2 separate regions of the Homo sapiens genome follow, and region 1 is linked to region 2. Evidence: promoter capture Hi-C in human tissues and cell types (Jung and others, 2019). All regions are on one chromosome and are shown on one strand. The core of a region is centred on a gene start or on the middle of the fragment in contact, and the rest is flanking DNA. Distances in the headings are between cores, read along the strand shown.

Region 1 (4,098 bases), core at 1,410-3,909, 1.9 Mb before region 2:
ATCTGTTAACAGCATGGTTTACTGAATGTTTTGAGCTCAGTGTTGAAACCAGCTGCTCAAAAAAAAAGATCACTTTCAAAATATTACTGCTCACTGACAATGGTCACCCAAGAGGTCTGATGGAGATGTACAAGGAGATGAATGTTGTTTTCATGCTGCTGACACAACATCCATTCTACAGCCCATGGAACAAGGAGTCATTTTGACTTTCTAGTCTATTACTTAAGAAATACATTTTGTACAGTTATAGCTGCCACAGTGATTCCCTGGATGGAAGTGAGCAAAGTAGTCTGAAAACCTTCTGAAAAGGATTCACCATTCTAGATGCCATTGAGAACATCTGTGATTCATAGGAGGTTAAAATATGAACATTAACAGTTTTGAAGACATTGTTTCCAATCCTCGTAGATAACTTTGAGGGCTTCAAGATTACAGTGGAGGAGGTCATTGCAGATGTGCAAATGGCAAAAGAACTAGAATTAGAAGTGGAGCCTGAAGATGTGACTGAACTGCTGCAATCTCATGATAAAACCTGAATTAATGAGGAGTTCCTTCTCAGGGATGAGCAAAGAAAATGGTTTATTGAGATAGAATGTATTCTCGGTGAAGATGCTGTGAACATTGCTGAAATGACAACAAAGGATTTAGAACAGTATATAAATTTAGTTGATAAAGCAGTGGCAGGGTTTGTGAGGACTGACTCAAATTATGTTCTACTGTGGGTAATTTGCTACCAAACAGCATTACATGCTACAGAGAAACCTCTCGTGAAAGAAAGAGTTGATCGATGCAGCAAACTTCATTGTTGTCTTAAGAAATTTCCACATCCACCCCAATCTTCAGTAACCACCACCCTGATCAGTCAGCAGCCATCAATATCAAGGCAAGACCTTTCACCAGTAAAAAGATTATGACTCACTGAAAACTCAGATGATTGTCAGCACTTTTCAGCAATAAAGTATTTTTGTTTTCTTTTTTTTGAGACAAGGTATCATTCTATTGTCCAGGCTAGATGGAGTCCAGTGGCACAATCATGGCTCACTGCAGCCTCAACCTCCCAGGCTCAAGCAATCCTTCCACCTCAGCCTCCCAAGTATCTGGGACCACAGATATGCACCATCATAACCAGCTACTTAAAACATTTTCTTTTGTAGAGACAGGGTCTCACTACGTCTCAAACTCACTAGGCAGCTTGAGACTGCCTAGGTTGTCTCAAACTCCTGGCCTCAAGCAATCCTCCTGCCTCAGCCTCACAAAGTGCTGGGCCTACAGGCGTTGAGCCACCACACCTGGCCGTACATTGTTATTTGAGACATAATGCTACTGAACAATTAATATACTACAGTATAATATAAACATAACTTGTCTGTGCACTGGGAAACCAAAAAATTCACTCTCATTTTACTATCATATATATTAATGTGGTGGTCTGGAATCAAACCCACAGCATCTCTCAGGCATGTCTGTATTACTCTCTCAAATCTTACCCTACACAAGACTCTCTAGTCTCATATTGTAGCTTGTGAAGACAGATAGGGAGACATTAGTGTCTATTTTACTTAAAAACAACTTCAAGTACTGCATAGAATTGCACAAAATGACACATTTACCACAATGTTAATTAATATTCTACAACTACAACTGACTCTTGATGCTTGTTTAATAAAACCACACAAAAAAATGTTAAGCTTTAGGGACAGACGAATGAAATGCTATACTATTAATTCTGTAAGTTAGAAATTTTCAATTCTTTCAGAATTTCCCAAATTAGATTTCCCACTTGCTGAGAGGCCTACCATACCCACCTGAGTTCATAAGAAGCTCCCCAAGTGACAGGAGATCCTAATTCAGTTCAGCTACAATGTATCAGATGCCAAAAAGTGCATTGCCATTAAAAAAAAAAAATCCTTGACCCCAAGACTCTGATAGTAAACTAGGAGCAGTACACTATAACTCACAAAACTAAACTCTAATTCTGCACTAGCAATGGTACTTACAGGCTTTTTCCCTGATCTACAAGAGGATAATACCTATTTCCTAGAGTTGTTGCAAAAATCCACTGAGATAAATATTTGTAAAAATAAACTATAAACTGTACAGCAACACACACGTTATTACAAAAAGATACATTAAAGAATTTTTTAAATAAAAATAAAAAGCCACAATCCCACAACTACCCTAACCATTTTCATATTTTTATTCCCTTGAAGTCCTTATCTTCAAATACTTTTTAATAAAATTATATTCATGTGAATTGGGGGAAGACAGTATAATATGCCTAGATTCCAGGTTTAAATACTAGGTCCAGCCGGGCACGGTGGCTCACGCCTGTAATCCCAACACTTTGGGAGGCTGAGGCGGGCGGATCACAAGGTCAGGAGTTCGAGAACATCCTGGCTAACACGGTGAAACCCCATCTCTACCTAAAATACAAAGAAAAATTAGCTGGGCATGGTGGCGAGCGCCTGTAGTCCCAGCTACTCGGGAGGCTGAGGCAGGAGAATGGCGTGAACCCGGAAGGCGGAGCTTGCAGTGAGCCTCGATCGCGCCACTGCACTCCAGCCTGGGTGACAGAGCGAGACTCCGTCTCAAAAAAAAAATACTAGATCCAGAACTTACTGTGTGAACCTGGGCAAGGTTCTTAAACACCTTTGTCCTGTTTTCTCATCTATAATACCAGGATATTAACAGTATCTATGTCATAGGGAGGTGTGAAGAGAAAATGAGTTACCACTTGGTGCAGTGCCCGGCACATGGCAAATTAAATAAATGTTAGCTAAAAAAATATAAACTTAATAGTCTGCTTTTTAAAAGATTCAACATGGTATCATAAACCAAAAGTATACTATTAAAGTTTCATAAGAAAAATACTTAAAAAAAAAACTTTAGCATATGTTACATTGACTGTTTTTAAAACATATCTCCCTACCATCCCTTTGTCTAGATATTTACAGTAATAGAATCAGGCTGGGTGGGTGGCTCAGGTCTGCAATCCCAACACTTTGGGAGGCCAAGCCAGGAGGATCACTTGAGGCCAGGAGTTGGAAACCATCCTGGGCAACACAGAAAGCCCTGGTCTCTACAAAATCTTTACACATCAGCCAGGTATGGTGGCACACACCTGTAGTCCTAGTTACTAGGGAGGCTGAAGTAGGAGGATCTCTTAAGCCAAGAAGGTTGAGGCTGCAGTGAACCATGATTGCACCACTACTCTTCATTCTCCAGCCTGGGTGGCAGAGCAAGATCCTGTCTCCAAAGGAAAAAAAAAAAAAAATCAAACCAGAATCTATCTATTACTTCATACTTCCAGTAGAGGTCTCCATCTAAAAAATTATGTACTAGACTAACCTTTAAATGAGTATCCTTGGTTATTTAAAAAAAAAAACAACTATCAAATATATAAGCTTTATCAAATATGTAAGTTTAGGTTTTTACGAGTAAAATATTTAATATAAAGAATATTTGCAGTAAAAAGTGTTTTTTCTCTCTTAGTATAAGTCAGCAGAATCATCTTAACATAAAACCAGGCCAGGCGCAGTGGCTCATGCCTGTAATCCCAGCACTTTGGGAGGCCAAGGCGGGCAGATCACTTGAGGCCAGGAGTTCGAGAACAGCCTGGCCAAATGACGAAACCCTGTCTCTACTAAACGTACAAAAAAATTAGCCAGGCATGTTGTTGTGTGCCTGTAGTCCCACCTACTCAGGAGACTGAAACATGAGAATCACTTGAACCCAGGAGGTGGAGGTTGCAGTGAGCCGAGATTGCGCCACTGCATTCTAGCCTGGGTGACATAGTGAGACTTTGTCTCAAAAATAATAATAATAAATAAAGGCCCCGTTTTATATAGCAAAGAAATCTCTGATAGTCTTCTAAAATTATTCCTTTTAAAACAGAATGGAGTGGTTAGTGTAATAAATGCAGATCTGATTTGGTTTCTACTTTTCCCTTCCATCATTCAGTAGTAATAATCTTAGGCAAGTCAATTATCCCCACGCAGGCCTACCTGGAAAAGTATCCTTATTTCTACCCTTCCAGAAAGCAGAGGGCTAGACCATCTTCTTAAAATCCTTTCTAGTATTAAGACTGACGATACTACA
Region 2 (4,156 bases), core at 1,615-4,114:
TGCACTATACACAAACATGTATACTGCTCACATTAATGTGGCACGCATCATAGTCTCTTCTATGGTAAAAAGACTTTATGGACGCTGTGATTTTAAAATGTCATTATTTGGCAATTGACCACACAGATGATCTAGGTCAGAAGTCCTAAACTACCATTTCATAGGTCAAACCTGACTTGCAGTTATAGTTCTCTTTTTGTTTTGTTTTCCTACATAATTGAAATAGAGATTTTACATAAAATCCCAGTTTCCGACATCACTTGCAAAACATAAGATTGGTCACCTTGCGCTTGAATTCCCACAGAGCATCAGTCAGTCAGAATTGAATTGAGTAGTAGTAGCTCCTTTTTTTTTTTTTTTTTTTTTTTCTCCCCTTTGAGACAGGGTCTGTTGCCCAGGCTGGAGTGTAGTGGGGTGATCATGGCTCATTGCAGCCTCTACCTCCTGGACTCAAGTGATCCTCCCACATCAGCCTCCTGAGAGCTGGGACTACAGGTGTCAGCCATCCCACTTGGCCTAGTAGTAGCTCATTTTAGATGGATCCTGTGCTCCCTCTCATTGCCACAGTCTCCATTTATTAGCTTCATTCATTTATGTTATTTAACTGACCCCATAAGCATTTGTGTTTTGTGACCACCATCTTAGGTTCTAAACATTACCTCTACCAAACTGTAAAAAGTAGGAATTCTACACCTGTTTCCCACACCCAAGATCCATCTCCCCTCCTGTGATAATTGCCTTTCACTCATGGGCAGTGTATATTGGGTAAACCAGCCACCTTGGCCAAGAATGATTTGACACAAGCCAAGCAGGGTCATTCACGTGCTTTCTCTTAGGAACTTTAAACTTGGACTTAGAAGAGCTATGTAATCTCTGCATGCAGCTACAACCCTGTCAATTTGGAAAGTGTAGGGTAGCCATATTCAGCCATTTTGACTGCACAAGCAGAGAGATCTTATTTGGAGAAAAAGAAGAGAAAAGCAGAGGTGACAACCAAGTTGTCAAGATCTATAAGATCCTCCAATATCCTTATAATAAACCCTCTTATCTGCATACATTGTTTTCAAATGGTTTGTTTCTTACAGACACTTGTCTTAGCCTTGAAACCTGCTGACTTCCCAACTCTGTGGTTCAATTTCCAAACCTCTTAAAGTTAAAAAACAAAACCTGCTATTTTTTTCAGCTCGTCACACAGGATGTTGGTACTCAAAATAAGTCTATTATATATTATTTGTAAACTGTAAACTACCATACAAATCTAAGGTATTATTCTCATGACAGCTCTGGCAAATGTTCACTAAATGGAGACACAATAGATGAAGAAAAGTGGGAAAATATTTGTGGCTAGAGCAGAGCAAGGTACCCAAGACGCTTGCAGCTTTTAAGTCAAACTATTGTACTGGCAGTAAATAAGCACTTTCTGGTGGCTGTCAGGGTGGTCCCAACCTAACTAGACATTCCTCTTCTTCAGGACTGAGAATACAGTGGCCTTTCCCAAGCACGAATATGGAAGGATTATATTTTGCTCAACTATACTTTTGAGCAACGCCAACTTCCTTAAGCAATTTCCCCGAAGCACTAGGACATGAATCAGTCAAAATACTGCAAGTCAACTCTGCAATTTTCTCTCTGCTCAGCAATGTAGTCAAAAACTGGTAAATCAGGGTGAACCATTGTGTCAGGAAGAATTTGATTAGAATGAAACTCCTCCCTACATTTCTTAAATCCATACAAGTCATAAAACTCAGATTTAGTTTATTCCTGAATATGAGAATATGTCTGAAAAACAGAGCTCAGATAACAGGCAATAGAACATAACCTTGTTTGCTGTGATTCTTGTAAAGAAAAACAATTGCAGGCCTGTTCATCACTCATGAAAAATACATCGTATAGTACTGGAACAGTGATTAACTTGCACTTATATTATTGACCTGAATAAATTATTTCTTCATTAGCAGATTATAATTTTGTGTATGTGTCACTTCAAGGCCCTAAAAATAAGAACTAGCTTCCCACCTAGTAGCAGTAGAGAAGCAGTACCAAAAAAAAACCAAACCCCCCACAAAACTAACATTACCTTTCAGGAAGGAACTACATGTTTGTAAAAGCAGGAAAGGAAAAGATTTTTAAGTAATATCTGCTGCTACCTTACAAATCTGTCCAAGTGAATTTTGAATAATTACTGGATTAAATAATAAACTGCCAACCTAAAGCAGAGCAGGATTTGCAATGGTATAATCGACCACAGAGGGATACTCAAATCAGCTAATCTCTTAGTGGCTGTCTCTTTCCGGAGTGAAGAGAAAGATACACTGAGTCTCTAAATGTGTCCAGCTGAAAAGAAAAGTTAACAGTCTGAGATTAACTTAATTTAAAATCGTGGAAAAATTTGATGAGAGGCAGTCTATATTAATTCTTTCAAAACAATGGAGCAAGGAGAAGGCTTTTCTACACTAAACGGTATCGATTATAGGAAGAGTAAACCAAGAAAAATAATGTGCACATCTTTTTTAAGCTGGAAAATGCCTATTTGGTAAAATGATCACTTCCGTTTTTGAGCACCCCTTTGCTGAGGCAGCGAATGGCGGCGTCGGCGGGGTTGTCAGAGAGCAGACGTCGGAGCACTGAGCAGTCTAGATTCTGCGGCATGTCCCCCCCGGAAGAAGCGGGAGAGGCGGCGGCAAGAGCAGAAGCAGGACCCCAAGCAGAGAACTAGGATAGCGAGGCCGGGGGCTGGACCGCAGCCCGGCGGCCAGGAAGGGCGGCGGGGCGGCGGGGACGCTCGGGCACTCAGTCAACCTCACGGGGCGGGGCGGCCGCGGGTCGCGGGCGGATGACGCGCCGGGGCCGGCGGAGGAGCAGCCACTTCCTGGGGCCGCCGGCCGGGGCCGCTGGCTGCACTCAGCGCCGGAGCCGGGAGCTAGCGGCCGCCGCCATGTCCCACCAGACCGGCATCCAAGGTAACAGCGCCCGGCGCGACTCGCAGGGAAGGGGCTTCCGGGAGAGCCGGGAGAGCCGGGAGGGCTGCAGGACCGGCAGGGCTGGAGTCGGGCCGGGAGCTCCGGAAGTCGGTCTCGCGGGGCGAGCCGGGCCTCGGCGCCTCTCCGCGCTCCTGCTTCCCGGGCGCTGCCGGCCTGCGTCCTCCTCCAGCCCGGTCCCTGCTGCCGTCACGTTGCAGATTGATCCGAAATTCGGGGGAGCGAAGGAAATTGGCTTTCGAGGCGGCCTGGTTGAAGGGGGCGTGCCTTCCACCGTCCCCGACAGTCGCCCAACTTTCCCCCTTTTGGTCACGTAGGGAAGAGCTGGGACAGTGGAGGCGACTGGGGCTTCAGTACGCTGTCGAGAACCAGGCGAGTTTTCTTTTTCATGGTCCAAAGGAGAATATTACAGGACTTTGATTACAAAAAGAACCATGCCAGAATCTTTCTCACATCAGTAGGGGTGCTTCCCAAAACTCTCCCGCATTTTCTCTCCAAATAGGAAAATGAGAGTTATGTTCTGAGAAATCTCGAGTGTAAGCGTGTGTTTTGATCTTTTTCCTAGATACTCCCCAAGGGAAACTGATCTGTATGGTTGCATGTAATGCGTGCAGACAGTTCAATATGCAGTTATATCTGACCTCCATTATTTCCTGGTTTGAAATTGGGCAGCCTGCAGGTACTCACCTCATCAAGAGTCAAATAATATATCCCCGGGTTACTCGCGATCACTTAACGAGTTCTAGTGTAAACTCAAGCTCTTACTGTTAATAGCGAGTCTTTCTCCCAGATGAACACTTAATTGTATGTTTTATTCGTAAAGATTTTTGACACCACCGCACACATCCCCCTGCACGCACGCAGAAGCAAAATAGTCTCAAATCTGAAAACTTTGTTTTATTTATCCGCATTAATTTCGATATATAAATATGTAGTTATTGACTCTCATGCTTGAGCCTTATAGCAAGCACTACCTACTTACATAGTGGTTCTTGCTGCTAATAGACAACACAGGAACGAAATTAGAACGAAATTGAAGCTTTAATAGGAACACAAGGGTTAGTTATTAAATACATATTTATTCAATGAGTTTAATCTAGCTTTTGAGAAATGCAAGTTAGAAAAATATAACCAGAGTTAAGACTGAATGCATTTTATTGTCTTTTTCTTTAAACAAG

The links. The method cuts DNA at HindIII sites, captures the fragments that hold promoters and counts their contacts. A contact is called where the count stands out against the background at its distance.
Region 1: a fragment that was not itself captured here is called in contact with the fragment with the promoter of TWF1 in region 2 in 1 of the 25 tissues and cell types used here (dorsolateral prefrontal cortex).

Annotation. Positions count from the first base shown.
Region 1 is chr12:45,745,277-45,749,374 of GRCh38, reverse strand. The region is part of intron 3 of ARID2 (AT-rich interaction domain 2); the gene reads right to left. Among named protein-coding and RNA genes, the nearest start is that of ARID2, 18 kb to the right of the region's middle. The HindIII fragment of the contact is 3,797 bases long and covers 761-4,098 here.
Region 2 is chr12:43,805,025-43,809,180 of GRCh38, reverse strand. It overlaps TWF1 (twinfilin actin binding protein 1), which reads left to right and starts at 2,864. Exons shown (of 9, transcript NM_002822.5): 1 at 2,864-2,960. The coding sequence starts at 2,936. It also overlaps a transcript of TMEM117 not described here. RefSeq lists a silencer at 2,689-3,168. The HindIII fragment of the contact is 9,263 bases long and covers 1-4,156 here.